2 separate regions of the Homo sapiens genome follow, and region 2 is linked to region 1. The links are contacts of gene promoters, found by promoter capture Hi-C in human tissues and cell types (Jung and others, 2019). All regions are on one chromosome and are shown on one strand. The core of a region is centred on a gene start or on the middle of the fragment in contact, and the rest is flanking DNA. Distances in the headings are between cores, read along the strand shown. Region 1 holds the start of GPR20 (G protein-coupled receptor 20). Region 2 overlaps SLC45A4 (solute carrier family 45 member 4).

Region 1 (5,063 bases), core at 957-3,456:
CCTGGCCTGACCTGCCAGCCTGATAAAGATGACAAGGAGGAAATTGTCCCTGTGCCCTGTCTCCTCTGAGGGTTGTGGAGTGTTGGCCCTGAGCTCGGGACCCCCATCCCTGGTGTCCCCCCAAGAGGATCCCTGGGTCCTGCTGAGAAGAGTCTCCCTGGGGGAGGAGTCAGGGAGGCTGGCGTGGGCTGTGACCCCTCCCCAGGCAGTTCCCCGCTGTTTGCTGGGGGACCGTCTCTGAGATTTCTCTGAGAACAAGCCTGAGAGTGCAAGGCTGGAGCCCCAGGCCCTCAGAGGTGGGCATGAGGCCTGGCACTGGTGCGGTGACTCAGCCACCCTCGCCTGCTCAGGAAATCTGAGCCTCCTCTGGCTCCAGCCCTGCCCAATCTGGGCTGCCTCCAGGCCACCCCCACACAAAAATGACATTGCATCCACCCCCACCTTCCACAAGCCCGGTGAAACCCTGCCTGCCAGGAGCCAGTCCTGGTCCAGAGAGGTGCAAGAGGCTGGTGGCCAGAGACTCCTGTGCCTCTCTGGGCCTCAGTTTCCCCAGCTAAAACAGACACAACGATGTTCTAAAGGAGATAATTGCAGCCTGTGGGCTCAGCCCTGCAGCCGCAGGGAGGCTGCTCCAGAGTGAAGAAACCATCCTCTCCCAGAACTTTCAATGGCTCCCTGTTGCAGCACTCTGGTACCCATAGAGGCTGCTGAGACTCAGTGTAGAAGTCCCCTGCCCACTCCCAGCTTTGCTCCCCAGGAAATATTCTGATGGCCTCCTGTCCCTCTGCCCATCTGGGCTGCCTGCCTCCTGTTATACCTCCCTCTGCCCCTTCCAGGAAGCCTTCCCAGACGGCATCCCTCCCCAGCAGGCTGGGTCAGGACCCTAGGGCCCACCTACTCTCTCCTGTTGGTCTGCATTACAACCAGCCTGAGCTCGGGAAGGCCCAGCCCCTCCCTTGGGGAGCCTTCCCTGAGTCTCCGGTGTGCAGTACAACCCACTCAGCAGGGCCTCGGCACTCAGGCGGCTGGAAGGTTAAAGTGTGAGTATCAGCAGAAGCACACGGGATGGGAACAAGAGGAGATGGTGCTCTCGGCAGAGGAGACACTAACTAAATGGCCCCAACCGCTCCCCGACAACCCCCGCTGCCACCCCAGGCTGGCCACAAGGCCTCCTGGCTCTGAAGCTGTCTGGGGAGAGTGGCCCTCCAGCAGCCCTCTGGGATCAAGCCTGTTGATGAGCTCACGCTTCCTCCAGCACTGAGGTCCGGGTCCCACACGCTCTCCCCACCTGCTGGCCTGGGTCACGTCCAGGTCTTTCCCACACACCTGACCCCACATGCCACATGCCACCGGTGCATGGGTGCAAACAGAGGCCCAGATGCCAGGTGTGCAGGCTGTCGGTCATGGGTACACACAGACACAGCCAAACCCAGGACACATGCAAAACAGAGAGCCATGCAGGAACCCAGGCTTGCGTGGGCTGAAGCTACCATGCACATGCCCCCTCCCGGGAAGGAAATTGGGCTTTCGTGTGCTCCCACCTCCTGTCCCGCACACAGCACGCACAAGTGCCAGCCACCATCTCCTGGATGGTGCAGCTGAGACTCAGCCCCTCCGTGCCTCAGTTTCCCCCTCCTGCCCCCCACACAGCACACACAAGTGCCAGCCACCGTCTCCTGGATGGTGCAGCTGAGACTCAGCCCCTCTGTGCCTCAGTTTTCCCCTCCTGCCCCGCACACAGCACGCACAAGTGCCAGCCACCATCTCCTGGATGGTGCAGCTGAGACTCAGCCCCTCCGTGCCTCAGTTTCCCCCTCCTGCCCCGCACACAGCACACACAAGTGCCAGCCACTGTCTCCTGGATGGTGCAGCTGAGGCTTAGCCCCTCCGTGCCTCAGTTTCCCACCTCCTGCCCTGCACACGGCACACACAAGTGCCAGCCACCACCTCCTGGATGGTGCAGCTGAGGCTCAGCTCCTCGGTGCCTCAGTTTCCCCCTCTGTCTCCAGTGGGTGTGGGGACTCTGGTGCCCCAGGCCCCTCTGTGCCTCGGTTTCTTCTTCTGTCTCCAGTGGGTGTGGGGACTCTGGTGCCCCAGGCACCGTCCCTCAGGCTCTGAGCCTTGACTCCTCCTGGGGGCGGGGAAGGAGCCTGCCCCGCCCCCACCCTGCCTTTGCCCAAAAGGAGCCCCAAGCGCTGGCCTGACGTCAGGCCGTAGGAAGGCGAGGTCCGGGCTGCATGCAGAGCTGAGAGCTGAGGACTCCCATCTCCAGCCTGCCCGGGTGAAGCGCGGTAAGTTCCCCTGTGGGCTGGCCCCAGCCTCCCTCTCCCCAGCTTCCCTAGATAGGAGGCTCCTGAGCTGCTCCCTGCAGGGGTTCTCACCCCCAGCCAAGCAGGAGTGGGAAGGGCAGGGCAGAGAAACTGCCTCCAGATCCGGGCTGGGGAGAGCTCAGAGCAGGTCCTGCTGGACAGGGAGCCATTTCTCAGATGAGAAAACAGAGACCTGAGGGAGAACATGGGCGTGAGTTGGGCTGGCTGCATAAGGGGGAGCTGCGCTGCTAGGTGCCCACCCAACTCTGGATTTCATTCATTCACTCATTCATCCCTCCGTTCAACACTCACCGAGCATCTGCTGGGTGCCCAGAGCTGGGTCTTGGTTTCCCCACCTGGCAAGGCAGCAGGGTGGCCCACAGGCCAAGCCAGGGACAGAGTTGGGGGACCCCAGAGGCACTTGGCAGGCTCTGGGGCCTCAGCCACCACCACCCCGCAGCTGGGGCAGGGCCATGGTGAGGGCTTTGTGGGCATGGGCTCCAAGCGCCATGCTCCCTCTTCAGAGTGCCCGTCCTGCCATCCCACAGCTCAGGCCCTCTGCAGTAGCCTTGGTGCTGTCTCTACCCCTTAGGGGTGGGGAAACTGAGTCCCAGGGAAGGCTTGCTTGCCAGCCCTCAGTGTGGACCTAGAAGCTGGCTCCAGCCCCGCGAAGCTCGCACTGGGACTGCGCTGTGAGAAGGCGGCAGGACAGGGTCCCGAGGGGGCAGCGGGCTGGGAACTGGCCAGCAGCCAGGGTGCTGGCGGGGCAGACGTGGAGCAGCTGGCGACCTCGCAGGACGGGGAATGCACCCCGCAGGAGGCTGGGCCTGTCCACTTGCCCTGTCTTCTTCCTTCAACAGCTGGTCATCCTGGGTCTTCCCTCCCCTCTCCCCCCAGGACTCATCCAGTCGCTGGGCTCCAGGGCGGTCTGCTGAGTGGCCGTGGCAAGTCGCTGCCCCTCTCTGAGCCACACGGTGTGGGCCCATCAGCAAAGGCGGGGTCTGCGGCTGGAGAGCCGGGCGTGGGGGCCATGCAGTTTGGACCATTTCTGAGCAGCTCCTGGAGCCCACGGGGTGGCTTCATTGTCTTCTTGTTAAGTGGTATTAGCATCTCCTCTTTATAGATGAGGAAACTGAGGCTCAAGGAGATCAGAGGGGTATTCTAAAATCATCCACTCCATCACTCAGCAGTGACTCAGTGACTCAGAGGGGCCAGCCAAGGCCAGGGCCCCTGAGGCACTCCAGTTCAGTGAGGGAAGCACAGCGAACAGGAAAGCAGGGACATAGGGAACTGCGCGTGGCAGGGCACTGCGAAGGAAGCCAGGCGGTGCAGGCGTGCGGGGCTGTGGGCTCTGGAGGGCCTCCCTGAGGAGGGGCGTCAGGGCCCAAAGAACCTTAAGTTGATCCCCTCACCATACGTCCCAAAGCCCTCCCCACGCCCCCGGTGTCTCACAGAGCCCTGAACACAGACTCTCCTTCCCACCTCTGGCCCTTCATGCTCACTGTGCCCTTCCTGCTGCCGGGAGCGCTCTTCCCTCTGATTGTCCTGAGGCCCATCCCGGCCGTGACCAGCCACCTCCCACCCTACCCTGAGCTGTCAGCTCGGAAAGGTGGGGCCAGGTCTGCCTGGGACCCATTTGTGCCCGCAGTGCTGGGGTCTAAGTCCTGGTCTGACACCTCCAAACTGCACGGGGCTGTGTGGCCTGGGGCCTCTGATTCCCTCCACACACAGGGCTGGGTGCCGCAGAAGGCTGATCCCAGGCACTGGGACAAAGTGCCAGCAGGCAGATTGAGGCAGAGCTCAGCCCCTCCTGCACCCCAGCTGGGTGAGCCCGGACACATGACTTAGCCCCTCTGTATTGGTTCCCCACAGGCACAGTGGGGCCAGAAACACCCACCCAGGGGCATCTTGAGGGAAGTCAATAAGACCCTGGGAAGGATGAGCCCAGCGGGTGCCCTTCAGATTGTGGGATCATAGCTCTCCCCCTGGGGCAGGGGCATCCAGGGCACTAGGGCATCAGAGGGGCTCAGGGAGAGCTCTGTGGAACAATGACTGTGGGTGCCCGGAGCCTTCACCAGGTGGCACAGGGAGAGAAACAGCATTCCGGGCAGAAGGAACAGCACATGCAGAGGGAAGAGGCTGAGAGGACCAGGCTGAGGAGCTTCAGGCGGAAGGACCAGGCTGAGGCCAGGCAGGTGCACATGACAGAATGCCTGTCCCAGCAGCTCCTGGAGAGGCTGAGGTTGGGGAGGGGTTTCAGGAGCTGCTGCAGCTACGGCTATCCCAGCTAGAGGTGAGCAATGAACTCGGTGATGGGGAGGAAAGGAGGGGCTGGTGGGTGACACGCAGGACCTCCAACTGGCCATGCCCCTCCCAGAGACACCCAGCTAGAGGTGAGCAATGAACCCAATGATGGGGAGGCAGGGAGGGGCTGGCAGGTGACATGCAGGACCTCCAACTGGCTATGCCCCTCCCAGAGACACTGGTGTTTCCGTTAGAGCCGCAGTCTCAGCAAGAGGGCTCTTAGCTGGTGGAACTGAGGCAGAGTCGGGTCAGATGGGGCCCAGGTGTCCTTCCCCACAGAGCTCAGTCTGTGCCCACCAGTGACGTCTCTCTCTGCACTGGGGTGGAGGGAGCCCTGGCCTGTGGGCGTGGGGGACAGGGAGAAAGACTTGGCTTCTGGCCAGGGTCACCTGGGACTTGCTAGGTGACCTGGGGTGAGTCTGACCCCATTTGGAGAGCTCAGCAAGCACC
Region 2 (5,063 bases), core at 1-2,500, 140 kb after region 1:
TCCTGCCTTGTGTACCCCAGTCGTGGGTCTCCTGCTCTGGCCAGATTCTGGATTCCTCCAGAGGGGACAGGCCAGCACCTGGGGTGGCGCCAGGCCCACCGAGAGGTTCAGCAGCGACAGCTGTCGTTGGGTGTAGATGCTTGGTGCCAAGGCGTGCCGCCCCTTCCAGGGAAAGCACGTGGGGCAGGGCACCTTGCGCACCAGCATTGAGAGCACCCCAGCAGGAGGCCCGTGTGCTGCTCGCCGCACTGAGCATCGTGGGTGGGAGGCACGGGCGGTGGTGCCACGGTGGGCTCTGTGTCTCCACTGATCCCCTTTGAATGTGCCAAGTGCCAGTCCCGACGTGTAGACTTGGGGTTGTCCAAGCAGAGGGGAAAGATGGAGAAAGGAAGCCCCACAGTGTCTTGTTGAGGATTGGAACGCGGGCCCTGACACCGCAGGGTGTAAAGTTAAAATCACGATGTCAGGCCATGAGGAACGGTCCAAGGCTTCCAGGCACAGTCCATGGCAGCTGTGTGGTTTGAGGGGCTGACCTGGGTCCCAAGGCAGGCCGGCCAGATGTAGGGGTGAGTTAGTGGGAGTCAGAGAGAGGCGTGGGGAGGCCTGACCTAGGGCTGGGGGCTGGCAACACAGGAGAGACCAGGGCCGGGGCCGCACGGAGGCTGGGGCAGCTGTGGGGACTATAGGAGTCAGAGCTGAGGGCAAAGGGGAGGAGGCTGGCGGGTGGAGGTGCCCAGGGAGGCCTGGGGCCGGGTCCCACCAGGCTCTGGAGGGGCCTGTGGGACAAGGGTGGAGAAGCAGCCTCCACAGGAGGACTGGGAGCCGAGGGCCTGGCCCGGGCCTAGCGGTTCCCCCCAGTGCCCTGTGCCTTCTTGTCTCCCGGGGTGAGAAGCCTCCCTTCTGGGCTGGGGACGGCTGCCTGGTCCAGGGCTGCTCCGGACCCAGCGTCTTCCCGGCTCCCAGGGTTGGCAGCACAAAGGCGGGACAGGCCTGTGCACGCAGCGCCTCCTCTAGATTAGGTGGGCTGGGTCGCACCTGCAGGTCCTCCCCACCCTCCTGACACCCAGCCAGCGCTTGGGGCAGAAACCAAGTAGGAAGGTGATGGCTGGAAGAGGGAATGCCTGGGTTTCTCTCTTGGCACCGCTTTTAACCCGACTGTTGGCCTTCGTTGACGCAACACAGGGTGGCTGAAACTTGGATAGTTAACTCCACTCTGCCTTTCTTGAAGAACCCACAGGCAGAGTTCGGGTGGAGTTAGGAGATGGGGCGGGAATTTCAAACCCTCGTGTTAAATAAAACCATGAACACTCTCAGAGGAATATAGCAGTGTAGTCTATGACACATCATTCACAGTGTCTAGGATACAACTCAATGTTATTAGACATGTTTTTTTTAAAAAAGAAAAGGCGACCGTTGCTGGAGGACGGCAGCAGTGGAGGCTGACCCACGATGATGTCGCGTGTCGCACTGGTCAGATGGGTGTGCGTAACTACACCCAAGGACAGAAAACATGCTCAGAATGGAGAGCACAGAGTCCCAGCAGAGAAATGGAAGCTACAGAAATAGAGCCAAGTGGAAATTCTAGGTCTGAAAACTACAGTATCAAAATAGAAAATGAACCAGATGGGGTTAACAGCAGATTGGAGGGGACAGAAGAGTCAGTGGACTTCATGATATGTCAACAGAAATGATCATATAGAGATTAAAGCCTGAAAAAAGAAATGAAGAATGCTCCAGGAAACAGAGGGATGATCTCAAAGGTCTGATGTCTGTCATGGGAACCCCAGAAGAAAGGAAATAGAGAATGGGATGTAAAACCTTTGCAGGGGCAGGTGCAGTGGCTCACGCCTGTCATCACAGCACTTCGGGAGGCCGAGGTGGGCAGATTGCTTGAGCTCAGAAGTTTGAGACCAGCCTGGCCAGCATGGCAAAACCCTGTCTCTACAAAAAATACAAAAATTAGCCGCCGGGTGTGGTGGTGCACACCTGTACCCAGCTACTCGAGAGGCTGAGGCACAAGAATTGCTTGAATCCAGGAGGCCGGAGGTTGCAGTGAGCTGAGATTGTGCCACGGCATTCCAGCCTGGGTGACAGCAAGACCCTGTCTCCAAAAACAAAACAAAACCAAAAAACTCACAGCTTTGAAGTAAGACGTAACGGGATGAACGGGATGTTTTCTAAACTTGGTGAAACGTATAAATCTACAAATTCATAAAGCTCCAGAAAGCCCAACCAGGATGTGTGTCCAGAAATCCCTGTCTAGGCTTGTCATTGTCAAACTGCTGAAAAGCAGCAGTAAAGAGAATCTTTAAGGCAGCCAGAGAAAAAAGGATCCATGACATACAAGGGGACACTCATGGGAATCACCACAGCCGCCCTGTCAGAAACCATGGGGTTCAGGACACAGTGGATCACATCTTCGAAGATCTGGGCTGGGAGGAATTAACCCAGAATTCTGTGTGCAGCAGAAATATTCTTCAAGAGTGTAAGTGTAATAAGGAGAGTTCAGACAGAATCCAAGAGCATTTGTCGTCAGCAGAGCCCCTCCTATTAGAAATGCTAAAAAAAAAAAAAACTACAGAAAATCCTTCAGGATTAAGCGAAGGGATATCAGATGAAAAGTCAGAGTTTTCAGAAAGGAAAGAGGACTGCTGGAAATGGTAAAGTGGTTTGGTTCAGGTCAGCTAGTGTTCGAGCCCTCTGTGGGTCACAGGTCCCATCTGGTGCCAGACTGGGGTGAGTGGTGGAGAGAGAGGAGTGAGCAGCTACGGCCCTCTGGGGGCACGGTCTCTCGTGAGTGCATGTGGGTGGCCGAGGTGGCTTCAATGCTGTGTGGAAAACGCAGGACCTGGCGTGCGCAGGGTTGGCGGGGGCCTCCTGGGTGGATGGCCCCCAAGGAGTTTGAAAAGGGACAGCAGGAGGGGTTCCCAGGCAGGGAGGTGAGAACCAGCGCGCTGCTACAGGAGGCACCGAGAGCCCTTCTGGGTGCCCAATCCAGAGGAGCCAGGACCGCACACAGGCTCCGCAGCTCTGCGAGGGGCTGCCTGGCACGGGTTTGCCGACATACATTGGTACAGTCTGCATGTGGTGGGAGTAATGACCGCTTCCCATTCTTTCTGAGGTTTTGAGTGTTGCGCCCTCTGCGTAGTTTTGATAAAGAGACTTTTCTGAGAAATAGGCTTCCTGATGGATCATTATTAACAAGGGCAGGGACTCAGTTCCGGTGAAGCTGAGGAACCCGGGTCTGCCGTGTAAACTCTCACCCATCCAGCGGACACGCGTCACATACTTCTCGTTTCCTGAAACATCAGTCCTTTCTGCTGACTCCGAGTAGGAATAAAATGTACCCTTCCTGAAGTTGTGTGCAGTGCAAAGGTCAAAGCAAACACCTTAAATCCTCGGCCGAATGCATACATGTTTTAGTGAGCACATTAGCAATAATTTTGAAAGGTGCTTCCCTCCTCCTCTGAAAATGATTTCCTCCTCCCACACAAGTTTATTTTTCTTGCTAGCTCAACACAATATTCTCAATGGCTTTTGGCAGTGTACAATGTTAGCCAGATGAGCCGCTGGCGTGCCAAGCACCTTTATTTCGTAAGGAAGTGTTTTACTGACGTATAGTATGGGGAGAGGGCACAGATCTCAAGTCCCCTGTGGGATGAATTGGCACCGCGTGACTGGAGCGTGGGACTCCCATCCAGATCAAGAACAGACACCCGACCCCGCTTCAGCCACTGCCCCCTGCCCCCTGCCAAGGGCAACCGGCACCCAAGTTCTCACAGTGGAGGGTCCTTTCCGCGCCTTTGGACATCACACGACAGGCGTCAGAGGTGCGTGGTCATCTGTGTGGCTGCTTCGCTCAGCGCTGTGAGTGGGCTCGTGCTCACGGCTGCACAAGGCGGCCGCTCGTTCCCGTGCTGTGGTGCTTGTGACTGCCGACACTGTTTGCCCGCCTGGTTGGTGATGGACACGCGGGTTTCTGTGATAGGGAGGCAGCGTGTCAACTCAGGGACAGAGTTTGAAATCAGGTAGCCCTGGGCTGGAATCCTAGCTGTGTGACCTGGGGTGGATTACTTAACCTCTCTGAGCTTCAGTTTCTCTGTCTGCAATAGGCACCATATTTCCTACCTCCCTGGGTGGTCAGGAAGGAGAATGTGAGCATGACAGGTGCCATCTGCAACCCCTTGGCTCCAGCTGGAGACACTCATGGTGCATCCCCCTGCCCCCACTCAGTGGCCACACAGAACAGCCTTTTGCTGGCTGTGGGGACCCTCTGCAGGACCCTCCATGGTACATTTTCAGCCAGTGAGGTCTAGAAGTCGTGGGCCCTTCCTGCCTCTGTGAAGCTGCAGTCACCGTCCTGCTCTTGTAGACTGTCTGGTGTCAAGGGACAGTGGCCCTGTGCCTGCCACCCTCAAAGTGGCCTTCAGCAGCCCTGAGGCCCTGGACAGCACCAGCAGTGTGGAGGGGCTCAGCCCTGTGTCCAGCCCTGGGCGGGGCGCCCTCCATGTGCCTGCACAGTCAGTGTGTGCTGCCCCTTAGGCTCGGGCCAGTGCAGGTGGAGCCCACTGGCACTCCAAGGCCTGGCTGCTTTTCTCTGGCCATCTGATGCTTACAGCTGGGGCTGGGTTGATTTCAGGTCATCTGGCCTTGCAGAAAAAGGAAAGTCTACCCCGTGGAGACAACCTGAGCAGGGGATGTGCGCATGCGTGCGTGTACACAGAGGCACCTGCCTGTCGCGGGGCTCCCAGGAAAACTGTGGCAGAGCCCGGCCAGTGCCTGCGTGTGCGACGGCCCTCGTGTCCCTTGCAGGCCTTCCGGAGCAGTACTACAGCCTCACCTGGTTCCTGAGCCCCATCCTTGGCCTCATCTTCACACCTCTCATTGGGTCTGCGAGTGACCGGTGCACCCTGAGCTGGGGCCGCCGGCGGCCCTTCATCCTCGCCCTCTGCGTTGGCGTCCTCTTTGGCGTTGCACTTTTCCTTAACGGCTCTGCCATCGGTAAGTTTCTCGGCCACACCTGGTGTCCTCACAACACAGACGGGGTCCTGGCCCTGGGTAGC

The links. The method cuts DNA at HindIII sites, captures the fragments that hold promoters and counts their contacts. A contact is called where the count stands out against the background at its distance.
Region 2: a contact is called between a fragment that was not itself captured here and the fragment with the promoter of GPR20 in region 1, in 2 of the 25 tissues and cell types used here (H1 embryonic stem cells and mesendoderm cells).

The regions. Positions count from the first base shown.
Region 1 is chr8:141,364,429-141,369,491 of GRCh38, reverse strand. GPR20 (G protein-coupled receptor 20) reads left to right here and starts at 2,206. Exons shown (of 2, transcript NM_005293.3): 1 at 2,206-2,291. RefSeq lists a silencer at 347-529 and an enhancer at 894-1,443. The HindIII fragment of the contact is 55,577 bases long and covers 1-5,063 here.
Region 2 is chr8:141,221,515-141,226,577 of GRCh38, reverse strand. SLC45A4 (solute carrier family 45 member 4) reads left to right here. Exons shown (of 9, transcript NM_001286646.2): 3 at 4,813-5,001. Among named protein-coding and RNA genes, the nearest start is that of SLC45A4-AS1, 31 kb to the left of the region's middle. RefSeq lists enhancers at 3,372-4,110, 4,111-4,850. The HindIII fragment of the contact is 4,890 bases long and covers 1-3,695 here.